Linked DNA regions of Homo sapiens: region 1 is linked to region 2. Evidence: promoter capture Hi-C in human tissues and cell types (Jung and others, 2019). All regions are on one chromosome and are shown on one strand. Each heading gives the region's core, a stretch centred on a gene start or on the middle of the fragment in contact. The rest is flanking DNA. Distances are from core to core; before and after follow the strand shown.

Region 1 (6,259 bases), core at 509-3,008, 200 kb before region 2:
CACCTGGGAGGCAGAGGTTGCAGTGAGCTGAGATCATGCCACTCACTGCACTTCAGCCGGGACGACAGAGCGAGACTCTGTCTCAAAAAACAACAACCGTTCTAATCCAAGCCCACTCAACTATTCTCAACCAATTTATTGATGACAAAGGTATGTTTCAGCTTAGATAAATGGCTTGTACAGAGTCAAGTAGCTGATTCATTCAGTTAGCTCCTGCCATATGCCGGCACTGCACTACGGAAAATGATAAAGGAGACACAGCTCCTGGCTTCGTGGAAGCTGCAAATAGTTGAGCAGACAGAGGAGGCAACCAACTGTTCGGTAGATTCCTGTGCAGTGAAATATTAACAAGGGCCACCAAGGAGGGGCCTCTAAATCAGACAGATAGAGCTGAGAAGACCAGCAGATGACAGCAGAGGCCAGACTAAACCCAGCTCTCACTGTTCTTGGCATGCTACCTTGCTTACCTGTGGCACACTTTGAACAAATATGCAGGGACCACCTGCCACAGGGAGCAGGAGAGAACCAAAGCCACCCCAGACTAACTCATTCACAAATACTCCTAATTCTCACAGTGGTTGAACCTTACCAGTCTTTTCTCTTCGTATGTCCCTACAATCTGGTGGACACTCACAAAAGCATTGCTTCCTCCTTCTCATCTCCCCACTTACTCTGCAAGCAAGGAACTCATGATCCTTCTGCCACTTCCCTTCTTAACTTACTCTGAGGAAAAAAAAAAAAAAACAAAGCCCTAAGAGAATATGTAACTTTCAAAGTACATAATTCAAATCAAGTACCCACACATACACATTTTACATGATATGTTTTTAGGATTAAATAAACAGGCTAAAGTTTCTTAAGTTGAATTTACAAGGACTTCAGTATGCAGGTCGTTCTATCGGTATTTAGATGAGAATGCAGAAATCTCACCACACAATTGTTGCTGTCCTGGTAGTAGGACTCAGAACCATGAATGCTAGGATCTATAAAAATAATTGCAAGCCTTTGCCCCTCTTTTCAAAATATGAAGAGAATGGGTCTTAGTTTTATTAACCAGAAAACATAAACAGACACACATATACAGGGTTCTAAACCTCCACTAGATAAGAAACCCAAAGCTATTCTTTTCAAAGCTTCTGAGGTATATCTAGTAACTTAAAAATAATGTAATTCCAAACAGAACCAGCTGACTAGCTCAGAGCTAAAACTGATGGTTAACAAGTTATGGGAATGTCAATCAAATCAGAATATGAATCTTTCCACTGGAAAAAAGAGTGATTTGGTATTATTTCAACATCTACTACAAAAATGTTGGTACTTCTTTTAAGATCTAATTACACCTTACCTCCTGAACACTTGGTTGTAGATGGTTTCCTTGGGCTCAGACCATACTCTTGCTAAGTAGTCCTGCTTCGCCAACTAGACTTCCTCAATTGTTTTTCCCCCTTCTACACCATCTTTGCCTGCAATTTCATCTAACATTTCCAAAAGAAAAGGAATATGCTAAGAATGGTTTACTTTATATCACAGCATCAAATATCTTCCTTAAAATATATTCTCTAGGAGAAAACTAAAAATAATGTCAGAAAAATTCATTTTAATTCTATTATCTGTTATTAAGTCTATTTTGTTCATTAATTTCTAGTACTCACCATGTGACCCCAGTATGTCACCCAACTTTTTTCCAGCTTAATCTTTTTTATTTCTAAATTAAAGTAAACAAAACATGCTTTTGCTATCTTCTCACAGAAATTCGAAGGATTAATGAAATGATAAAAACTGCTTTGGAACTCTTGGAAGGGAAGAGTATACAAACTGGGTTCACTTTGTATATATTGGTTTAAAAAAAAAAGAACACATTGTGATAATGCATTTAACGAATGTGGGCAATGCTTTCTTTAAAGAAGGCTCAAATATATTCTATTAGCCTTATCTACAAGTAAGTATTTTGATGCAACTGTAATTTTCCAACATTCACGAAAAGAATTTGCAAATACGCATTACCATCTGCCTCAACTTACTTTTGTTTTTAAAACACTCAAAAAATGTCCAGTCTAAATAAAAGATTTAAATTAAGAGCAATCAGTTATTGAATGCATACTATGGACCAGGCACTTGATACCATCTTACTCAGAACTCACACACAGATTAAAAGGTGAAGTCTGCAATCCCTATTTTGCAGATGAAGGAACTGAGGCCAAGTGAGGCTAGATTCCGTAATGAGGAGCCATGCTACCAGTGAGAGTCAGAGGCAGGACTCAAGAGCTGCCAGCAAAGCCTGCACTCCATCACCATGCTGTGATGACTCCTCTTCAAATACTCACTTTTGAGAAATCTAAAAAAATAAGCACCATAAACAAGTTTAGTCACCCATCAAATTACTTATCAAATAGATTAGTCTTTCAATTCCAAGCCACTGGAAGGATAAACAATGAGGTCCTTCAGGATACCTAGCTACTGCTATCATGTATATATATGCTATTCATGGGTATATCATGACCTTGAAGCAGTGGGAAATAAAAATGACACACTGTCACAAAGAAGCACTGAGGTACATTTTAAACCCTTGGAAATAGAGGACTTGCAGCAGGGATATTAGAGAAAAACAAGATCTAAAGCAATCCTGTATCATTCATATAATTCCGGAATTAAATGTATCATCATTTTCCTCAACAACTGCTCTGTTTTTGTTATCAATTAACACTAAAGACAATGCAATATTAATGCTTGTTGAAAAATTGTTAAAATAATCTCTATAACATTAATGGACCTCAATGTCACTCAATGCACTCTAAGAATGCAAACACACACACAAAAAGAATAGAAAACAGGCAAACTGAAGGATGCAGATTTGCTACACAAATACATCTTTATTTTACCTAAAAGTTCACCCACTTGTTTAAATAATAACATTTCCATTTAGATTATTTATTTACATACAACTTTTCAGAAGCTCGTGTTGGTTTAAGCAAGGCCTATTGATGACCATCTCAGGCATATCTTTCTAGCTAATGCCCACCTGGTGGATAAATATTAATAATGTGTAAAAACATCCAATATCTTATTTAGTCTTTTCCTGGGCCCATCTGTTCCCTAAAAGTCACGCTTTACTCACGAGTATACTATTTCAGTCAAATTAACTTGCCTAAGTCTGAGAAAAATTCTGCTCCCTGTCTCCACTATTCTGTATGGGAAAAAAAAGGTAATAAAATGCAATGTCACTGCTGGTCAACTATCAAGAAGAGTAATGAAAGAGAGTATCACGGAAGAGAAAAAGGCTGGCCCAATGCAAAGGGATGGGAAAAGGAGGAGGCAGGGTGAGGGTTGGAGGGAGGTGCTCTAAAACAATAACAGGAGGAAGAGAAGATGATGAACTGGCACAGGCCTCCCAGTTCCTAACATTAAGTTCCAAACCTAGCTCTGATTTCTTCTGACCTTGGGCAAATCTCTGGTTTCTCTGTATCCTACTGTGCTCCAGGAAGTTAGAGAAAATCAAGCCAGAGAAAAGCTTCTTATAATAATGTCATCAAATGCCAGTCTTGCTACTATTAAAGGAAGAAAAGCTAAGCTACCTATGATCACACACACACACACACACACACACACACACACACAGAGAGAGAGAGAGAGAGTAATTAATATGGTATTAATGAACCCTCTAATTTGTTGGAAATGATTTTTAATTCATGAAATGCAAATCATTTAGTGTCAACTCCTTTACCCTCCTCCCATTCTAAACAATTCATTCCATTTTCAGGTTTGCCTTTAGGACATTTTCCCTGACATTTGTGTCTTTGACTTATTCTACTCCTTTAACTAAATGACTTATTCTTTAAAAGGAAAATAGAATTCACCTCCCTTAAGTATTAGTGCCTTGGAAGTCCTTATAAAATACTTGATCTGATCCATCCCACTCTCAATTAACCTTCACTGCATCCAGTTATATTTTTAATCTCTCCAATCTCTTTTTTTTTCCTTGCTGCTCTTCTCTAGGGCCCTCTCCAATATACAGTATCTCTTTGTGATAAAGTCACAGTCTAAATTCAATGCCTTGTTGTCAACTCAGAAACTGAGACACAGATCACCACCTTCCTGCTTTGACATAGATACTTCAGTACATGCAGGCTTGAGCTAAAATGATATGGGCTGCCAGATGACACTGGAAATGCATATATTGTCTACTTTCCACTTATATTCAGTTCAATTTCAGAACTGTAGTTTTTCAGGGATTTTTGTAAAAATAAATTGACATACTATAATTTTTTATCCTGATTAGTTTGCATTATATCTGACTACCTTCATTTTACATGTGCATTTGAAAGTTGTCTCATACTTTATCCTGTCAGTTCTCTTTTTATACATACATAAGCTTCTATGTATTCATATTTTCTTGTATATTCTTACCCAGTAAACTTAGAACTCAATAAATACATGTTCATTGGTTTTATGTGTCCATATTTCTCAAGAGTTCCAGGAGGAGTCATACTGAATCCCAGCTTGGCTGCTTGCTAGCTATACGATCCTGGGTGAATGACTTGTCTCTCCAACCCTGAATTTTCTCCCCTATTGACATGGGGATATGGAAACAGGTAAGGAATAGAAGGTATGAAAAGTATCTAGCAGAATCCATGTCTGCTACCCCATAATGGCTAAGCAAATGTTGGCCCCTTTTTTCCGTCTACTTTATAAAATGTATTTAGTATGACATAATCCATAAGAATTTTTAAATCAATGCAGAGAGTGTGAGAAACTGCAATGCAAACTTGGACTAGGATAAATTGCAAAACTTTGGCCATGCAGAAAATTAAATTGGATCATTCTATATAGCATATGAGCTTGGGACTCTCTTGACTTGGCTCTGGTAGCAGAGGAAAAAAATAATCTATTTCTTTCTAGATACTTGAAGTCCCTCTAAAATAAATGACAATAATAAATAAAACTTCATAATTTAACTTACTAGCCATAGCAAAAGGTACTACCTAAGAAGAATACCTAACACTCTAAATGTATACTCCATTGATAGAGAACCCAATAGCCTACCCTCTAATCCAGCTAAACATTAAGTTTCCATTCCTCCAAGGTTCTGGGTGACTGCCCAACTTCATTCTTAAAGAAGTTAAATCAAGTGCATTTTTGGATAACTGTTAATCATAAGTAAATTCCAAAACAGAGATATCCTATCCAGTCTAGTTATCTTAGTTATATTGCTCTCAGACATTACTAATAAAAAAGGAATTCATTTGATGGTAGTAATTAAGTACCACCAACTGTGAATTTGTGATAACCTAAAAGTATATTATATAATGTTAATTCAGCAAAAATATTTTTGTGATTTCAAGTTCTACCAATTCATTGTTGCATGAAGAAAAGTTCATGTTTTGACACTTTATTTATAGACCTTGGGAACTATGAAGTATGGTTCTCAATAATTATGACATTTTAATTGTAAGCACCATTTATCTAATAACTATAATACTTAGAAGCAATTTCTTGAAAAATATCAGCATAATCACTTTTTAAAAATATTTTATTTCGTCCCCATTAATCAAAAAACTTTTTCTATTTGTGCAGAATTGAGAGTCTATTTACCACTCAGACTAGAATAAAATAATGTGGACTCTTCTGCCTATATAATTAGCATTGAAAAACTAATATTTCTAACAAGCGTGTCATTTTAAAACATCTGCGTATTAGCAACTAGTACAGTTTTCACTTAACACCTCTATAAATGAGTTATATGCACTCTAAAAACATACTTAAATAAACAATCCAATTACATTTTAAAACTCTCTTCAAGAATGTCTAATATAGCAAAGAAAAATACTTATCTTTTAATAAATGTTGCTTCTGCCTAAGGGGTCACCTCAAATCTTCTGTGAAATGAGGCAAGGTAAACATATGTAAATAAATATTAATAAAATCATTAACATAGTAGCTTCTTGTTTATTATTATTATTTGAGACAGAGTCTTGCTCTATCAGCCATGCCGGAGTGCAGTGGCACAATCATGGCTCACTTACAGCTTTGACCTCCTGGACTCAAGTGATCCTCCTACCTCAGCCTCCCAAGTAGTTGGCACTACAGGCATGCTCCACCATACCTGGCTAATTATTTTTTGGTTTTTCTGTAGAGACAAGATCTCACTACGTTGCCCAGACTGGTCTCAAACTCCTGGGCTCAAGCAATCCTCCCGCCTTGGCCTCCCCAAATACTGGGGTTATAAGCATGAGTACTGTGCCTGGCCAGCTTCTTATTAATA
Region 2 (5,323 bases), core at 1,435-3,934:
GCTGAAGCTGCCCAGATGTTCAGTGTTGTTCACGGGGCTGGGAGTTTTCCGTTGCTTCCTGTGAGCCTTTTTATCTTTTCTCTGCTTGGAGGAGAAGAAGTCTATTTCATGAAGGGATGCAGTTTCATAAAGTCAGCTGTTAAAATTCCAGGGTGTGCATGGGTTTTCCTTCACGAAGGCCTTTATTTAATGGGAATATAGGAAGCGAGCTCATTTCCTAGGCCGTTAATTCACGGAAGAAGTGACTGGAGTCTTTTCTTTCATGTCTTCTGGGCAACTACTCAGCCCTGTGGTGGACTTGGCTTATGCAAGACGGTCGAAAACCTTGGAATCAGGAGACTCGGTTTTCTTTCTGGTTCTGCCATTGGTTGGCTGTGCGACCGTGGGCAAGTGTCTCTCCTTCCCTGGGCCATAGTCTTCTCTGCTATAAAGACCCTTGCAGCTCTCGTGTTCTGTGAACACTTCCCTGTGATTCTCTGTGAGGGGGGATGTTGAGAGGGGAAGGAGGCAGAGCTGGAGCAGCTGAGCCACAGGGGAGGTGGAGGGGGACAGGAAGGCAGGCAGAAGCTGGGTGCTCCATCAGTCCTCACTGATCACGTCAGACTCCAGGACCGAGAGCCACAATGCTTCAGGAAAGCTCAATGAACCCAACAGCCACATTTTCCTTCCCTAAGCATAGACAATGGCATTTGCCAATAACCAAAAAGAATGCAGAGACTAACTGGTGGTAGCTTTTGCCTGGCATTCAAAAACTGGGCCAGAGCAAGTGGAAAATGCCAGAGATTGTTAAACTTTTCACCCTGACCAGCACCCCACGCAGCTCAGCAGTGACTGCTGACAGCACGGAGTGACCTGCAGCGCAGGGGAGGAGAAGAAAAAGAGAGGGATAGTGTATGAGCAAGAAAGACAGATTCATTCAAGGGCAGTGGGAATTGACCACAGGGATTATAGTCCACGTGATCCTGGGTTCTAGGAGGCAGGGCTATATTGTGGGGGGAAAAAATCAGTTCAAGGGAAGTCGGGAGACCTGATTTCTAATACTATATTTTTCCTTTACAAGCTGAGTAATTCTGAGCAAGTCACAAGGTAGTAACTGAGGCTGTAAGATTACTTAGTTTCTCCTTATTAGGAACTCTTTTTCTCTGTGGAGTTAGCAGCACAAGGGCAATCCCGTTTCTTTTAACAGGAAGAAAACATTCCTAAGAGTAAAGCCAAACAGATTCAAGCCTAGGTCTTGCTGACTATATGATTGGTTTTTTGAAAAATCATTTCAGCGATGTTTACTATCTGATTCAGAAAATGAGACTAGTACCCTTTGGTCAGCTGTAAACAAACACCCATTTGTAAATGTCTCAAGTTCAGGCTTAACTGCAGAACCAATCAAATAAGAATAGAATCTTTAGAGCAAACTGTGTTTCTCCACTCTGGAGGTGAGTCTGCCAGGGCAGTTTGGAAATATTTACTTCACAAGTATTGACACTGTTGTTGGTATTAACAACATAAAGTTGCTCAAAGGCAATCATTATTTCAAGTGGCTTAAAGTTACTTCTGACAGTTTTGGTATATTTATTGGCTATTGCCATTTGCTTTTTGTTTTTTCTCTTTGGGTTTATTAATGTAAAGCAGGGATTATTAACCTACAGTCCAGAAAGCCTGTGAATTTGAATGAGGAAAAAATTACATTTTTGTTTTTACCACCTTCTAACTAAATTTAACATTTTATTCCATTGCGAATAGAGCCATAAACTCAAAGTGGTAATAACAGTACCTGTGATTTTGTCATTACCAATAGAAATCACAGACATTTTATACTATATTACAGTTGTTGCAGATACGTTGTAAGTGAAATATTTATACTCAAAACTACTTTGAAATTAGACCTCCTGCTGGATCTTGTTTTTAACATATTAATAAAACATGTTTAAAATTTTGATATTTTGATAATCATATTTCATTATCATTTGTTTCCTTTGTAATCTATATTTTATATATTTGAAAACATCTTTCTGAGAAGAGTTCCCCAGATTTCACCAATGAGGTTCTTGGCATGCACACACACAGAGTAAGAACTGATTTAGAGGCTAACATTGACATTGGTGCCTGAGATGCAAGACTGAAATTAGAAAGTTCTCCCAAAGATACACAGTTGTTTTAAAGCTAGGGGTGAGGGGGGAAATCTGCCGCTTCTATAGGAATGCTCTCCCTGGAGCCTGGTAGGGTGCTGTCCTTGTGTTCTGGCTGGCTGTTATTTTTCTCTGTCCCTGCTACGTCTTAAAGGACTTGTTTGGATCTCCAGTTCCTAGCATAGTGCCTGGCACAGTGCAGGTTCTCAATGAGTTTGCAGAGTGAATGGAAATATAAACTAGAAATATATCCTTGTTGAAATCAGCACACCAGTAGTCCTGGTGTAAGTGTGTGTACGTGTGTGTGTGTGTGTGTGTGTGTGTAAAACCAGGTGGAGATATAGGAACTATTATTGGGGTATGGGTGCATAAATTGGGATGTTCTTTTTAAAAAGAAACTCCAAACAGACTTCTGGAAGGTTATTTTCTAAGAATCTTGCTGGCAGCGTGAAGGCAACCCCCCTGTGCACAGCCCCACCCAGCCTCACGTGGCCACCTCTGTCTTCCCCCATGAAGGGCTGGCTCCCCAGTATATATAAACCTCTCTGGAGCTCGGGCATGAGCCAGCAAGGCCACCCATCCAGGCACCTCTCAGCACAGCAGAGCTTTCCAGAGGAAGCCTCACCAAGCCTCTGCAATGAGGTTCTTCTGTGCACGTTGCTGCAGCTTTGGGCCTGAGATGCCAGCTGTCCAGCTGCTGCTTCTGGCCTGCCTGGTGTGGGATGTGGGGGCCAGGACAGCTCAGCTCAGGAAGGCCAATGACCAGAGTGGCCGATGCCAGTATACCTTCAGTGTGGCCAGTCCCAATGAATCCAGCTGCCCAGAGCAGAGCCAGGCCATGTCAGTCATCCATAACTTACAGAGAGACAGCAGCACCCAACGCTTAGACCTGGAGGCCACCAAAGCTCGACTCAGCTCCCTGGAGAGCCTCCTCCACCAATTGACCTTGGACCAGGCTGCCAGGCCCCAGGAGACCCAGGAGGGGCTGCAGAGGGAGCTGGGCACCCTGAGGCGGGAGCGGGACCAGCTGGAAACCCAAACCAGAGAGTTGGAGACTGCCTACAGCAACCTCCTCCGAGACAAGTCAGTTCTGGAGGAAGAGAAGAAGCGACTAAGGCAAGAAAATGAGAATCTGGCCAGGAGGTTGGAAAGCAGCAGCCAGGAGGTAGCAAGGCTGAGAAGGGGCCAGTGTCCCCAGACCCGAGACACTGCTCGGGCTGTGCCACCAGGCTCCAGAGAAGGTAAGAATGCAGAGTGGGGGGACTCTGAGTTCAGCAGGTGATATGGCTCGTAGTGACCTGCTACAGGCGCTCCAGGCCTCCCTGCCTGCCCTTTCTCCTAGAGACTGCACAGCTAGCACAAGACAGATGAATTAAGGAAAGCACAGCGATCACCTTCAAGTATTACTAGTAATTTAGCTCCTGAGAGCTTCATTTAGATTAGTGGTTCAGAGTTCTTGTGCCCCTCCATGTCAGTTTTCACAGTCCATAGCAAAAGGAGAAATAAAAGGACCGGGTGAGATGTGTCTGCATATGAGCAGTAGAAAGTTGTCAATTGTCCCTTTTGAAAAACTATCCTTTTTTGAACCTTTGCTCAGATTGTTATTTGTACCTTTTGATGTTAAAATGACCTTTATTTATGAAATTACAATAGATTTGGGAAATGATAATAAGTGGTAAGTTTTTGTTTATTTTTAAATGTTCTTCCCTGGCAAAATAAAGAGATGGCACCTCTCTGTCAGTTTTCTTAATATGTTGTTCTGAAAGTTTTCTTACTCAGTCCAATCTGAGAACCTCTGCTTTTAAGTCATCAGACAAATTCTTGAGATGGCTTTTTCTGAGAGGCTCTTCTGTTCATCCTGGTCCCTTCTTGCCTAAAGGTGAGTCTGTGTGTGTGTGGGGGGGGTGCGGGGGTGAGGTGTTGGGGGAGGTCTTCTTATTAGCTGGGAAGATGGTATTTGTGTCACTTTTTGTGAAAGTGGGCTCCCAAATATTCCCTGTTGAGGAAGTGTTCTAATCATGAGGAAATAAGCAAGCAAATCCAGTTGTTGGACAATTAGTTTGGACTGGTCAAAGATGTCAGTGCCAAGGAAGAAAGAAAAAAGGGGTGGGGAAGGGCTTGTTCTATATTAAAGAGACTAAAGAAATGTGTTAACCAAATGTAGTGCATGAGTCTTGATTGGTGTCTTCATCCAAGGGGGAAAAAGGCTATGAGGAACAGGTTTGGGATAACTGAGGCAATTTGACTGCTCATTATTATGTTACTGTATTAATGTTCAGTTTCTTGGTGAGATAATGATACTGTGGTTGCGAAGGATAAAATCTTTGTTCTATGGAGATACATGCTTAAGTACCCAGGGTGAGGCGTCAGGATGTCTGCAATTTGCTCTCAAATGGTTGAAGAAAGACTGCAAATATATAGATAATGAGAGAAAGAAAGGTAAAACAACTGTGGCAAAATATTAATAACTGGTGAATTACAAACTGGTGAATCTAAGTATATGGGGAGCTTATTGTACTATTCTTTCAGTTTTTCTATAGGCTTGAAAAGCTTTAAAATTATGAGAAAATATTTCCTAAAAAGAGCCTTCTACGTGAAAGGCAAGCTCTTCATAGCTATGGGGTTAGAAAACCTAAGAGCCAGAGCCTGGGGATGACCTTGGGCAAGTTATTGAACCCTCTGCATCTTCATTTCTTGTCCATAACATAACAAAGAAAATTCCTGCTGTGAATAATTTTTGTGGGGTTCACATGAAATACCTATAAGATGTAAAGGATTTTTAAAAAATGTTTAGATTGTTAGAATTAGAAGAGATCCAATTCTGAATTTTACAACCAAGGAAAGTGAAGTCCTAAGATGCTAAGGGGCCAAGGTTGCCCAGCTGGTCAGTGGTAGAGCTTGAGACTTGAATCTGTGGAGACAATTGAAAGAATCATCATTACCAGAAGTGTGATGAGGCATTACTTATTTCAGACTGTTGAATGAAGTTACATTCTCAATAAAAACTCCTGCATGTGTGTATGTGGGTGTGGGTGGTGTGTGTGTGTGTGTACAAAAATAGTGGCAATGTTTTGCCTTTTTTTTTCTTTTGTGGTCATTTAACAAGTCTTTGGGGATTTATTAGATGTGTTTCCTAATTTTATATTTTTTCTTGATCTTTCCAGCTACTCCACTTTTGAAATAAGGGCAACATCCCATTA

What was found. The method cuts DNA at HindIII sites, captures the fragments that hold promoters and counts their contacts. A contact is called where the count stands out against the background at its distance.
Region 1: a fragment that was not itself captured here is called in contact with the fragment with the promoter of MYOC in region 2 in 1 of the 25 tissues and cell types used here (heart right ventricle).

The regions. Positions count from the first base shown.
Region 1 is chr1:171,845,253-171,851,511 of GRCh38, reverse strand. All of the region lies in intron 1 of DNM3 (dynamin 3), which reads right to left. Among named protein-coding and RNA genes, the nearest start is that of DNM3, 6.9 kb to the right of the region's middle. The HindIII fragment of the contact is 4,362 bases long and covers 1-3,939 here.
Region 2 is chr1:171,650,049-171,655,371 of GRCh38, reverse strand. MYOC (myocilin) reads left to right here and starts at 2,684. Exons shown (of 3, transcript NM_000261.2): 1 at 2,684-3,364. The coding sequence starts at 2,761. The HindIII fragment of the contact is 9,045 bases long and covers 1-5,323 here.